2 separate regions of the Homo sapiens genome follow, and region 2 is linked to region 1. The links are contacts of gene promoters, found by promoter capture Hi-C in human tissues and cell types (Jung and others, 2019). All regions are on one chromosome and are shown on one strand. Each heading gives the region's core, a stretch centred on a gene start or on the middle of the fragment in contact. The rest is flanking DNA. Distances are from core to core; before and after follow the strand shown. Region 1 holds the start of HIGD2B (HIG1 hypoxia inducible domain family member 2B). Region 2 holds the start of TMEM202 (transmembrane protein 202).

What was found. Contacts are between HindIII fragments. The study calls those that stand out against the background at their distance.
Region 2: the fragment with the promoter of TMEM202 here is called in contact with the fragment with the promoter of HIGD2B in region 1 in 1 of the 25 tissues and cell types used here (IMR-90 fibroblasts).

The regions. Positions count from the first base shown.
Region 1 is chr15:72,683,939-72,689,701 of GRCh38, reverse strand. It overlaps HIGD2B (HIG1 hypoxia inducible domain family member 2B), which reads left to right and starts at 3,520. Exons shown (of 3, transcript NM_001350932.3): 1 at 3,520-3,884. It overlaps BBS4 (Bardet-Biedl syndrome 4), which reads right to left and starts at 3,495. Exons shown (of 16, transcript NM_033028.5): 1 at 3,451-3,495. The coding sequence starts at 3,474. The HindIII fragment of the contact is 21,731 bases long and covers 1-5,763 here.
Region 2 is chr15:72,395,254-72,401,016 of GRCh38, reverse strand. TMEM202 (transmembrane protein 202) reads right to left here and starts at 2,712. Exons shown (of 5, transcript NM_001080462.3): 1 at 2,610-2,712; 2 at 2,109-2,364. The coding sequence starts at 2,690. The HindIII fragment of the contact is 13,856 bases long and covers 1-5,763 here.

The DNA of each region.
Region 1 (5,763 bases), core at 2,271-4,770:
TGCCCCTGCTGGAGTCCAGTGGCATGATCATGGCTCACTGGAGCCTCAACTTCCCCCAGGCTCAGATGATCCTCCCCAGTAGCTGGGAAGACAGGCGCGTGCCACCACGTCTGGCTAATTTTTGTGTTTTTTGTAGAAATGGGGCTCCAACATGTTGCCCAGACTGGTCTCAAACCTCTGGACTCAAGTTATCCTCTCACCTCAGTTTCCACAAGTCCTGGCATTACAGGCATGAGCCACCAAGTACAGCCTGTTTGCTCATTTTTTAAGAATTCTAAACTATACTGAAAATACAAATATTAGTCCTCAGTTTTCCTTCTAAGGAACTGGTAGCAATCCGTAAGTAATTTTGGTAGCATACTAGAATTTCTGCGTCCCACACTGGGCTAGTTTTACTCAGTTTTGATGGGGTGTCTTCTGGCCTCAAGGCCTTGACTGTAGCCTTCTTAGATTTTTAGCTATACATTTCTTCAAAAATTCTGTGAGTTTTGAGTCTTTTCCTTTTCTCTCCTCCATATCCATATATCCTTATCTACGGATCTATATGTTTTCCTTTGTGTTATGAAATTAAGATCACATAATATACCCCACTTCACATCTACCTTTTATTTAAATGTACACCATGGAAGTCCCTCCAAGTCAATTAGTCGTAACATTCTCTTTTTTTTTTTTTCTTTCTGAGTTTAGGAATGGAGGTTTAATAGGCAGAAGAAAGAAAGGAGAACAGCTTTCTCTAGTGAGAGAGAGGGGCTTCTGAGAGGAAAAGCAATTAGTTGTAACATTCTTTTTAATGACTGCATAATATTCCACAGTATGGAAATATCTGAAGTCATCAATTACCCTATTAATGGGCATTTAATTTGCTTCCAGCGTTTTGCCACTACGGATAGTACTACAACGAATGCCCTAGTACTACACGCTCATGTTTAACACTTTTTTCTGTGGGACACAGGTCTAGGAGTAGGATTACTGGGTTCTTTTAATTGTATTAAAAAATAAGGCAGGGGGCCATGGCTCACGCCTGTAATCCCAACACTTTGGGAGACCGAGGCGTGCAGATCACAAGGTCAGGAGTTCAAGACCAGCCTGGCCAACGTGGTGAAACCCCATCTCCACAAAAATAAGCCAGGCATGGTGGTGAGGGCCTGTAACCCCAGCTACTCGGGAGGCTGAGGCAGAAAAATCACTTGAACCCGGGAGGCAGAGGTTCCACTGAGCTGAGATCACGCCACTGCACTCCAGACAGGGCGACAAAGTGAGACTCCGTCTCAAAAAAAAAAAAAAAAAAAAGATAAAATACCACTTCCTAAAAGGACAGAAATTCACATTTCCATGCATTGGTAACTTGAAAAGATGAAAATTACTATAAACGTAACACTACTAGCAATAAATTTGACAACAATGAAAACAGTTAACTTCAGGCTTAATTGCTAAGTCATATCGAAACAAAAGCTATTCTCTTTAAAACAGTATTAGACATTCAAATGTACATGACAATTCTGCCGTCACAGACTCAAGTTCATATTCTATTACACAAACACTTGTGATGAGCACTAGAGGATAAGCTATATTTGTAGCAATGTTATGTTACCCATTATCTTTTACACTTTAAGATTACTTAGAAGTATTTTCTTTTTTTTTTTTTTTTTTTTTTTGAGACGGAGTCTTGCTCTGTCACCCAGGCTGGAGTGGAAGTATTTTCTTTCCTATGTTTTTAATATTTAAAACCCAGTAACATTAACCATGCTATTTACTTTTTTTTTTTTTCTGAGACGGAGTTTTGCTCTGGATGCCCAGGCTGCAGTGAAATGGCACGATCTCGGCTCACTGCAACCTCTGCCTCCTGGGTTCTAAGCGATTCTCCTGCCTCAGCCTCCCTAGTAGCTGGGATTACCAGCGCCCGCCACCACGTCCAGCTAATTTTTTGTATTTTTTTAGTAGGGACAGGGTTTCACTACGTTGGCCAGGCTGGTCTCGAACTCCTGACCTCAGGCGATCCACCCACCTCAGCCTCCCAAGGTGCTAGGATTACAGGCGTGAGCCACTGAGCCTGGCCTATTTAATTATTTTAAAATCTGTTTTTTCTTTCTTTTTTTTTGAGAAGGAGTCTGTCTCTGTCGCTCATGCTGGAGTGCAATGGCATGATCTCGGCTCACTGCAACCTCCGCCTCCGGGGTTCAAGCGATTCTCCTGCCTCAGCCTTCCAGGTACCTGGGATTACAGGCGAGCGCCACGATGCCCCGCTAATTTTTGTATTTTTAGTAGAGACGGGGTTTCACCATGTTGGCCAGGATGGTCTCAAACTCATGACCTCAAGTGATCCACCCGTCTCGGCCTCCCAAAGTGCTGGGATTACAGGCGTGATGCACCGCGTCCGGCCTAGCTATTTTAAATTTCTTAGCTTAATAAAAATGTTTCGGCCGGGCGTGGTGGCAGGCGCCTGTATTCTCAGCTAATCCGGAGGCTGAGGCAGGAGAATTGCTGGAACCTGGGAGGCGGAGGTTGCAGTGAGCCGAGATCGCGCCATTGCACTCCAGCCCGGGCCGACAACAGCGACACTCCGTCTCAAAAAAAAAAGTTTCTGTCTTCAGAGTTTTCTAATTAGACTAGAATAATATGACTACTCTGCAAATGAGAGTAGAAAACAAACAAAAGGCCCTCTAACAATAACACTAACCTTGCTGCTTAGCCAAAACTAAGTTGTAAAACAGCCAAAGGCTGCTATTTGTACTGTTTTCCAGGGCGTTTTTCGAAAGACAATAAATTCCGAATACCTAAAATCATTCTAACAAATGGACAGAACAGGCTTTCAAACCCAACACTAAAGCAAGGTAAACAAAGCTTCACACTTGGCACTTTACCGAAATTAGATCCAATTATAGATATATGCCTCAAAAAATAGCGACTAGGTCATCCTGAATTCATCGGGTTCCTCTATATTAGCAGTTCTGTGGAGTGAACGCCCAACTCAGCCTTCAGATGAATTCCAAAACCGTACTTTCCTAAACTTAATCACCACAGAAAAAACACAGTCCCGCTCCACTGGCAGAAGGCAGTGACGCTGCAAGCTTCCAGGCATGTTAAATTCCCAATTCACGGGATTAACAGGAACTGTCTACACAAGTGCTAGTCATTACCTTCCAAACCCCCGAGACAGAAAAAGATGGCACTACGGTAAGAGCCATTACTGGTGAAAAGTCTCCCTTCTCCGTCCAGCGCACCCCAAGAGGGACTACAGTCCTAGAACAGGACCTGTGCTGCTAAGTATCCAGACTTGCCCCAGGCGACCAGTTCCCGGGACAGTAAAAAGGGGACCGTGTCGCCCCGCCCACCCTGAGACGCTCGGCACCCAGCTCCGCCTCTCTCCAGGAACCGCTGCATGGGACAAAAGCCACCCGCCAGCTTGCCTTGCCCTGCGGCCGGGCAACTAAAGAGAATCTCGGCGCTCACCGTCGCGACTCTCTCCTCAGCCATTTTAGCTCAGCCCACCGCTGCGCGGCCGGAAGTCGGCGGTTTCCCAGACGACGAGGCAAGCGGAAGTCGTAGGGCTGTGGAGGACTGTGAGGAAGCGGGGGAAGGAAGTAAATCGCCGAGTGACCTAAGGAATCAGGGGGAGGATTAGGGTCTGCTCCACAGAAGGCTTACCTCTGAAAGAGTCGGGGAGGGAATGCGCAGCCACTCGCTGCCTTTATCCCGAGAAGCCCCTAACACCCCTCGCCGTGGTCTGTACATGGTCTGTACCTCCGGCCGCGCTGGCTGGTAGGCCAGCCACCTGGGATGGCAGCCTAGTTCTCCCGCCACCTTACCCTGCCCTGACTCTAATCTGCATTTAATTCAGTCCTTCTTCCGGGAGATTTCGGCGGAGAATTTCTTTCTCGCCTTAGGTACAAAACTCCCCGTTTCTTGGCTGTCACTATCGAACTGAGGTACTCACCTTATCAGCTTCCCACTCTTGTTTACTCCAGAGTTTGCAAACATGCTCCTGGTGGGCTGCATTTGAACGGCAGTCTTTTGATTGGAAATATTTAAAAGTTAGGAGATTTCACAAGAAATCGGCCATGGGATAAAGAGACGACAGTCGGCGTTTTCTGCAAGGCAGTGAAATAGATCTGAATAGCGGCTGCGACTGTAGATAACTTCCCTTCCTAACATACTTAAGGCGTTCTCCATTACCTGTCTGGCCCCCGGTGCGGTGAATTAAATGTTTAGTGTTTCTAAACTAGGAAAACGTGTGGGCTTTGGAATCAAACATGAGTTCTGAATTTGACTACTGCATGACCTAAGCCCGTCGTTTCTTTGAGCCTCATTTATTAAAGTGCCGGGAGCTGTGTGATGAACAAAACGGAGGATCCCTGCACCTGAGCACTGACATTAGCCCCAATTCATACTTTTAAGTCTCGCCCTTGTAATTTAGACATAAAATCTGCCTCTCCCAATTCATTAACTGGGAAAGCATTTAAGACAAGTTTCTCCAGGCCTCTAAGAGAGGGAGAACCCCACTGACAATTAGAGTTACATAGAAGAAACAAGTACGGTAATCTATCCAAATACAAGGGGAAAGGACAGCAATAGAATAACAGCTCTTCTAAGTATTTCAGTAACACTCTCTCTTTTAATCTTTATAACAATCCCATGAGACTGTTGGTCTCCCACTTTTTTCAGATAAATACTCTGCCTTTCATTTATTAAAAATAAAATTTTCCAGCTTGGCCAGCATGGTGAAACCCCGTCTCTACTAAAAATACAAAAAATTAGTCGGGCATGGTGGTGCCCGCCTGTAATCGCAGCTACTCGGGAGGCTGAGTCAGGAGAATCACTTGAACCCAAGCGGCAGAGGTTGCAGTGAGCCGAGATCGCATTTCTGTGCTCCAGCCTGGGCGATAGAGGGAGACTCCGTCTAAAAAACAAAAATTTGCTGGGCTCGGTGGCTCACGCCTGTAATCCCAGGACTTTGTGAGGCTGAGGTGGGCAGATCACCTGAGGTCAGGAGTTCAAGACCAGCCTGGCCAACATGGTGTAACCCTGTCTCTACTAAAAATACAAAAAATTATCCGGGCGTGGTGGCCGGCTCCTGTAATCCCAGCTACTAGGGAAGCTGAGGCAGGAGAATTGCTTGAATCCAGGAGGTGGAAGTTACAGTGAGCTGAGATCATCCCATTGCACTCCAGCCTGGGCAACAAGAGCAAAACTCTGTCTCAAAAAAATTTTTTTTCAGAGGCAGGGGTCTCACTATTGATGTCCAGACTGGACTTGAACTCCTAGGCTCAAGTAATCCTCCTGAGGCAGGAAAATAGGGTCTGGAGGTAGGGAACATAAGGCCAATTCACACTTCAGCTATAACAGGTAATATTCTGTCCATAGGGCATAGGCCATAAATGTCTTTGTAACTTTACTTCATCTTCTCTATTTACATAAGGCATACCCGAAGTAACCATGGAATCCTCTGGGGTTATTTAAACTCCCCAAAATTCTGTAACGGAGCCACTGAACTTCTAAGCTCAGGCCCGCTCCCACACTGGAGTGTACTTTCATGTTCAGTAAATTCCTTGTCCCTTCCTTGCTTTGTTTGTGCATTTTGTCCAATTCTTTTTTCAAGACACCAAGAACCTGGACACCCTCCACCTTTAACACTTCCACCTCATCCTCTCAAGTAGCTAGGATTACAGGCACCAGTCACCATGCCTGGTGCTAAATTCTCCACTTTTCAGAGATTAATTAAACACCTTGCCTAAGTGAGCCGAGATCGTGCCACTGCACTCCAGC
Region 2 (5,763 bases), core at 1,463-3,962, 290 kb after region 1:
AAAAGACACTCCCACCAGTGCCATGACAGTTAACAAATGCCATGGCAATGTCAGGAATTTACCCTATATGGTCTAAAAAGGGGAGAAACCCTTAGTTCCGGGAATTGCCCACCTCTTTCCCCAAAAACTTATGAATATAATTCACCCCTTGTTTAGCATATAATAAAGAAATAGCCATTAAAATGGGCAAACAGCAGCCCTCGGGGCTCCTCTTCCTATGGAGTAGCCATTCTTTTATTCCTTTACTTTCTTAAATTTGCTTTCACTTTACTCTATGGACTCATCTTGAATTCTTTCTTGCCCAAGATCCAAGAACCCTCTCCTGGGGTCTGGATCAGGACCCCTTTCTGGTAACACTGGGATTACAGGCGTGAGTCACCACACCCAGCCCTAATTTATTAAAAATTTAAATAATAATCTTAAGGATGAAATTTTAGCCTGGGCACCCAGTTACATAAATATGATTGCAGCTTAATCTTTTTGCCTAAACCTTTTAATCCATTTCTAGTTATTTCCTTGGAATTAATTTCTAGAAATGGAATTATTTACTCAAAGGAGATGAACATTTTTAAGTCTCTGGATACACCTAATCATATTGCTTTAGTTATACCAATTTGCATGGCATGTACAGGAATGCGTATGGGAGTGATAGCAGTTGCATTATCATTTAAAAATCTGTTAATATGGTGGTTGAAAAGTTACATCTTGTTATTCATTTGATTTACCTTTCTTTAATGATTGAGGTTAAATTATTTTTCCTATGTTTATTAGATAGTTATAGTTCTTCTTTTGTGCATGTCTGTTCAAAAAGAACTTATTTATTTGAGTTTGTGTCTTTGTAATACTTTGTGTATCCTTTTACTATATTAAGGCCATTAACCTTTATCTTTCATAATTGTTGCAAATATTTTCTCTAGTTTTCGTTTTATGCAGTTGAATTGTCTGTCTGCCTTTGATTTTAGTTTCTTCTCAAGATCATGCAGGATACTGTCCCTTAATATCAAATGTCACAGCCCATGGCCAAACAACTGATGCTGTACCTCAGAGTTGGGCACAGGTGCTCCCCTCCTGCTTATGTGAGGAGAATAGATGGGACCCCTGCTTATGTGATGAGAATAGATGCTTTACTCACATATGTTTTCTTTCACAATACCCACTTCTTTGTGTAAATGTATATCTTGCGGGTTATGGGAAAACTGTCAGTGTAATGATATCTTTCCTCTAAGTTTTTGGTTTGATTGAAAAATTCATGCATATGTTATTTTTAGCCCCAAAAACTTATTTTAAAATATTTTGTGTTGCACTTTCAGATTTATTTAAATTCACATAAAATTTGACATAAATAACATTATCTTCATAGCTGGCATTTGTTATACCACATATCTAACGTACATTTAAGTTCTATTCCACTGCTAGGAGAAGAACAAGCTGACCTTGAAAGTTAAATCTAATAGAGGTTAAGATATTTGCTTTATCTTCCAGCTATGATCAATCACTTCTCTTCTAATTCTGCAAGCCACATTAGAATACCAATCACATTGCTTAGCAGTAACACCTTGTAAATGAGTTATTCCTAGGGCAGGCATGGTGGCTTACACCTATAGTCCTGGTACTTTGGGAGGATCACTTGAGGCCAGGACTTTGAGACCAGCCTGGGAAATATAATGAGAACTTGTCTCTACAAAAGAAAAAAAAATTTAAAAAAATTAAAAATTAGCCAGGAGTGTTGGCACACATCTGTAGTTCCACCTACTCAGGAGGTTGAACAGGAAGATTGCTTGAGTCCTGGAGGTGGAGGCTGCAGTGAGCAATGATAGTGCTTTTGCACTTCGGCTAGGCGTTAGAGCAAGAGCCTGTCTCGAAAAACCAACCAACAAACAAAAACAGTTCTTCCCATAAAGAGAGTATAACCCATTATTTAGGACAGGAAACAACCTGGAATAGGAGAGAGAAAGGGCACACTGAGGATACCAAAGAAAGATCCATCCTGCACTTGGAGAGGTGAAGGCCAAAAGATCTTGGAGGAAGAAACATGAAGGGCCAATTTGTGTGAGCAGAAAGCTCTGCAATTGTGTGGGGCCTGTGGCATTTAATTCGGTGGCACTCACAGGGTGGCTTGGGTGTGTGGCTCCAGCACAGCTCATGGTTGCATAAGGTCCAGAGTCCTGCGTAGAGCTCAAGGCCATTCTTGATCACCAGAAACTGTACCCAGTTCAGTGGGGACATGGCGATCAGCATTAGGAGGCTAAAACTACAGAGGCTGCCACAGAGCGTTCGGATGTAGATGTGTGCCTGATCCATAAGCTGCTGCTGCCTTTGGCATGACATCGAGGCACTTGGATGTTTCTTGGCAGGGACGGTAGGCTACAAGGATGAGGGAAATATTGCCTACCCGAAAGAATAACCCCTGATCCCCAGGGTCACCCGCTCTTCTCTACCTCAAGCATTCCCATGTGTGTTTGATTTATAGATATTTTTCCCTACTCCTAAAAAAAAAAAACCCCACAATTTTCAGGGTGATCTTTTCTGTCTTTAGGATGCTCTGTGTAGCCCTGCCTTTAAGTAAGTTCTCTTCTTCCCATCTGACTTTCAATTAGATACCTCCTCACCCTTTGGTATTTCCGGTTCCCCTTTATTTTGGGAACCTCAGGACTGTGGAAAGTCAAGGTTAAATGTTCCCTTCGCTCCATCTTGGCAGTTAGTTCTCTAACTGCCACGGAATTTGTCTCTGCATCTCCTCACACATGCTGGCAGAAGCAAAAAGGGCCAGGACCCATGGCATAGATCCTGTTTCTGTTTTATATTTTTGATCTGGTCAGATCAGGAAGAAATCACCACATTTTAAGCATGTGCATGTATGTGTGATGCTCCCCACCCTCCATTCTCCACCTACTCCCAACTCTTTTATTAAATAAATCCACAAACATTTTGTTAGCAGTGGCTGTGTGTCAGGCTTTGTGCTAGCTTCTGGGACACAAAAATAAATAAGACACAGTTCCCTCATAGCAAATAAAAAAAGGGGAACTCATATGCTTGTTGGCCACATGTGTTTCTTCTTTTGAAAAGTGTTCATGCCCTTTGCCCACTTTTTAATGGGGTTATTTGTCTTTTTCTTGTAAATTTATTTGAGTTCCTTACAGATGCTGGATATTAGACCTTTGTCAGATGCATAGTTTGCAAAAAAATTTTCCCTTTCTGTAGGTTTTCTGTGTACGCTATTGATAGTTTCTTTTGCTATGCAGAAGCTCTTTAGTTTAATTAGATCCCATTTGTCAATTTTTGCTTTTGTTGCAATTGCTTTTTGCATCTTCATCATGAAATCTTTGCTGGTTTCTATGTTCAGATCATTAGAGAAATTAATCTTTGTATTTTTTTTTTAATTTTTTTATTTTTTTATTGATCATTCTTGGGTGTTTCTCGCAGAGGGGGATTTGGCAGGGTCATAGGACAATAGTGGAGGGAAGGTCAGCAGATAAACAAGTGAACAAAGGTCTCTGGTTTTCCTAGGCAGAGTGTTTGTGTCCCTGGGTACTTGAGATTAGGGAGTGGTGATGACTCTTAACGAACATGCTGCCTTCAAGCGTCTGTTTAACAAAGCACATCTTGCACCGCCCTTAATCCATTTAACCCTGAGTGGACACAGCACATGTTTCAGAGAGCACAGGGTTGGGGGTAAGGTCATAGATCAACAGGATCCCAAGGCAGAAGAATTTTTCTTAGTACAGAACAAAATGAAAAGTCTCCCATGTCTACTTCTTTCTACACAGACACAGCAACCATCCGATTTCTCATTCTTTTTCTCACCTTTCCCCCTTTTCTATTCCACAAAACCGCCATTGTCATCATGGCCCGTTCTCAATGAGCTGTTGGGTACACCTCCCAGACGGGGTGGTGGCCGGGCAGAGGGGCTCCTCACTTCCCAGTAGGGGCGGCCAGGCAGAGGCGCCCCTCACCTCCCGGACGGGGCGGCTGGCCGGGCGGGGGGCTGACCCCCCACCTCCCTCCCGGACGGGGCGGCTGGCCGGACAGAGGGGCTCCTCACTTCCCAGTAGGGGCGGCCGGGCAGAGGCGCCCCTCACCTCCCGGACGGGGCGGCTGGCCGGGCAGGGGGCTGACCCCCCACCTCCCTCCCGGACGGGGCTGCTGGCCGGGCAGAAGGGCTCCTCACTTCCCAGTAGGGGCGGCCGGGCAGAGGTGCCCCTCACCTCCCGGACGGGGCGGCTGGCCGGGTGGGGGGCTGACCCCCCACCTCCCTCCCGGACGGGGCGGCTGGCCTGGCGGGGGCTGACCCCCACCTCCCTCCCGGACAGGGTGGCTGCTGGGCGGAGACGCTCCTCACTTCCCAGACGGGGTGGCAGCAGGGCGGAGGGGCTCCTCACTTCTCAGACGGGGCGGTTGCCAGGCGGGGGGTCTCCTCACTTCTCAGACAGGGCAGCTGGGCAGAGACGCTCCTCACCTCCCAGACAGGGTCGCGGCCAGGCCGAGGCGCTCCTCACATCCCAGACGGGGCAGCAGGGCAGAGGCGCTCCCCACATCTCAGACGATGGGCGGCCGGGCAGAGACGCTCCTCACTTCCTAGATGGGATAGCGGCCGGGAAGAGGCGCTCCTCACTTCCTAGGTGTGATGGCGGCCGGGCAGAGACACTCCTCACTTTCCAGACTGGGCAGCCAGGCAGAGGGGCTCCTCACATCCCGGACGATGGGCGGCCAGGCAGAGACGCTCCTCACTTCCCAGACGGGGTGGCGGCCGGGCAGAGGCTGCAATCTCGGCACTTTGGGAGGCCAAGGCAGGCGGCTGGGAGGTGGAGGTTGTAGCGAGCCGAGATCACGCCACTGCACTCCAGCCTGGGCACCATTGAGCACTGAGTTAACGAGACTCCGTCTGCAATCCCGGCACCTCGGGAGGCCGAGGCTGGCGGATCACTCGCGGTCAGGAGCTGGAGACCAGCCCGGCCATCACAGCGAAACCCCGTCTCCACCAAAAAAATACGAAAACCAGTCAGGCGTGGCGGCGCGCGCCTGCAATTGCAGGCACTCGGCAGGCTGAGGCAGGAGAATCAGGCAGGGAGGTTGCAGTGAGCCGAGATGGCAGCAGCACAGTCCAGCTTCGGCTCGGCATGAGAGGGAGACTGTGGAAAGAGAGGGAGAGGGAGACCGTGGAAAGAGGGGAGAGGGAGAGGGAGACCGTGGAAAGAGGGGAGAGGGAGAGGGAGAGGGAGACCGTGGAAAGAGAGGGAGAGGGAGAGGGAGACCGTGGAAAGAGGGGCAGATCATTAGAGAAATTAAAACCACAATGAGATACCATCTCACACCAGTCAGAATGGCTACTATAAAAAGTCAAAAAAATAACAGACTGTGGCGAGGTTGTGGAGAAAAAGGAACACATACACTGTTGATGGGAGTGTAAATTATTAATTCAAACATTGTGGAAAGCAGTGTGATGATTCCTCAAAGACATGAAGACAGAAAGAACTACCATTTGACCCAGCAATCCCATTTTTGGGTATATGCCCAAAGGGATAGAAATCATTCTATCATAGAGACACATGCACATGTATGTTCACTGAAGCACTATTCACAATAGCAAAGACATGGAATCAACATAAATTCCCACCAATCGTAGACTGGATAAAGAAAATGTGGCACATATCCACCATGGAATACTATGCAGCTATAAAAAGAACAAGATCATGTGCTTTGCAGGAAGATGGGTGGAGCTGGAGGCCATTATCCTTAGCAAACTAATGCAGGAACAGAAAACCA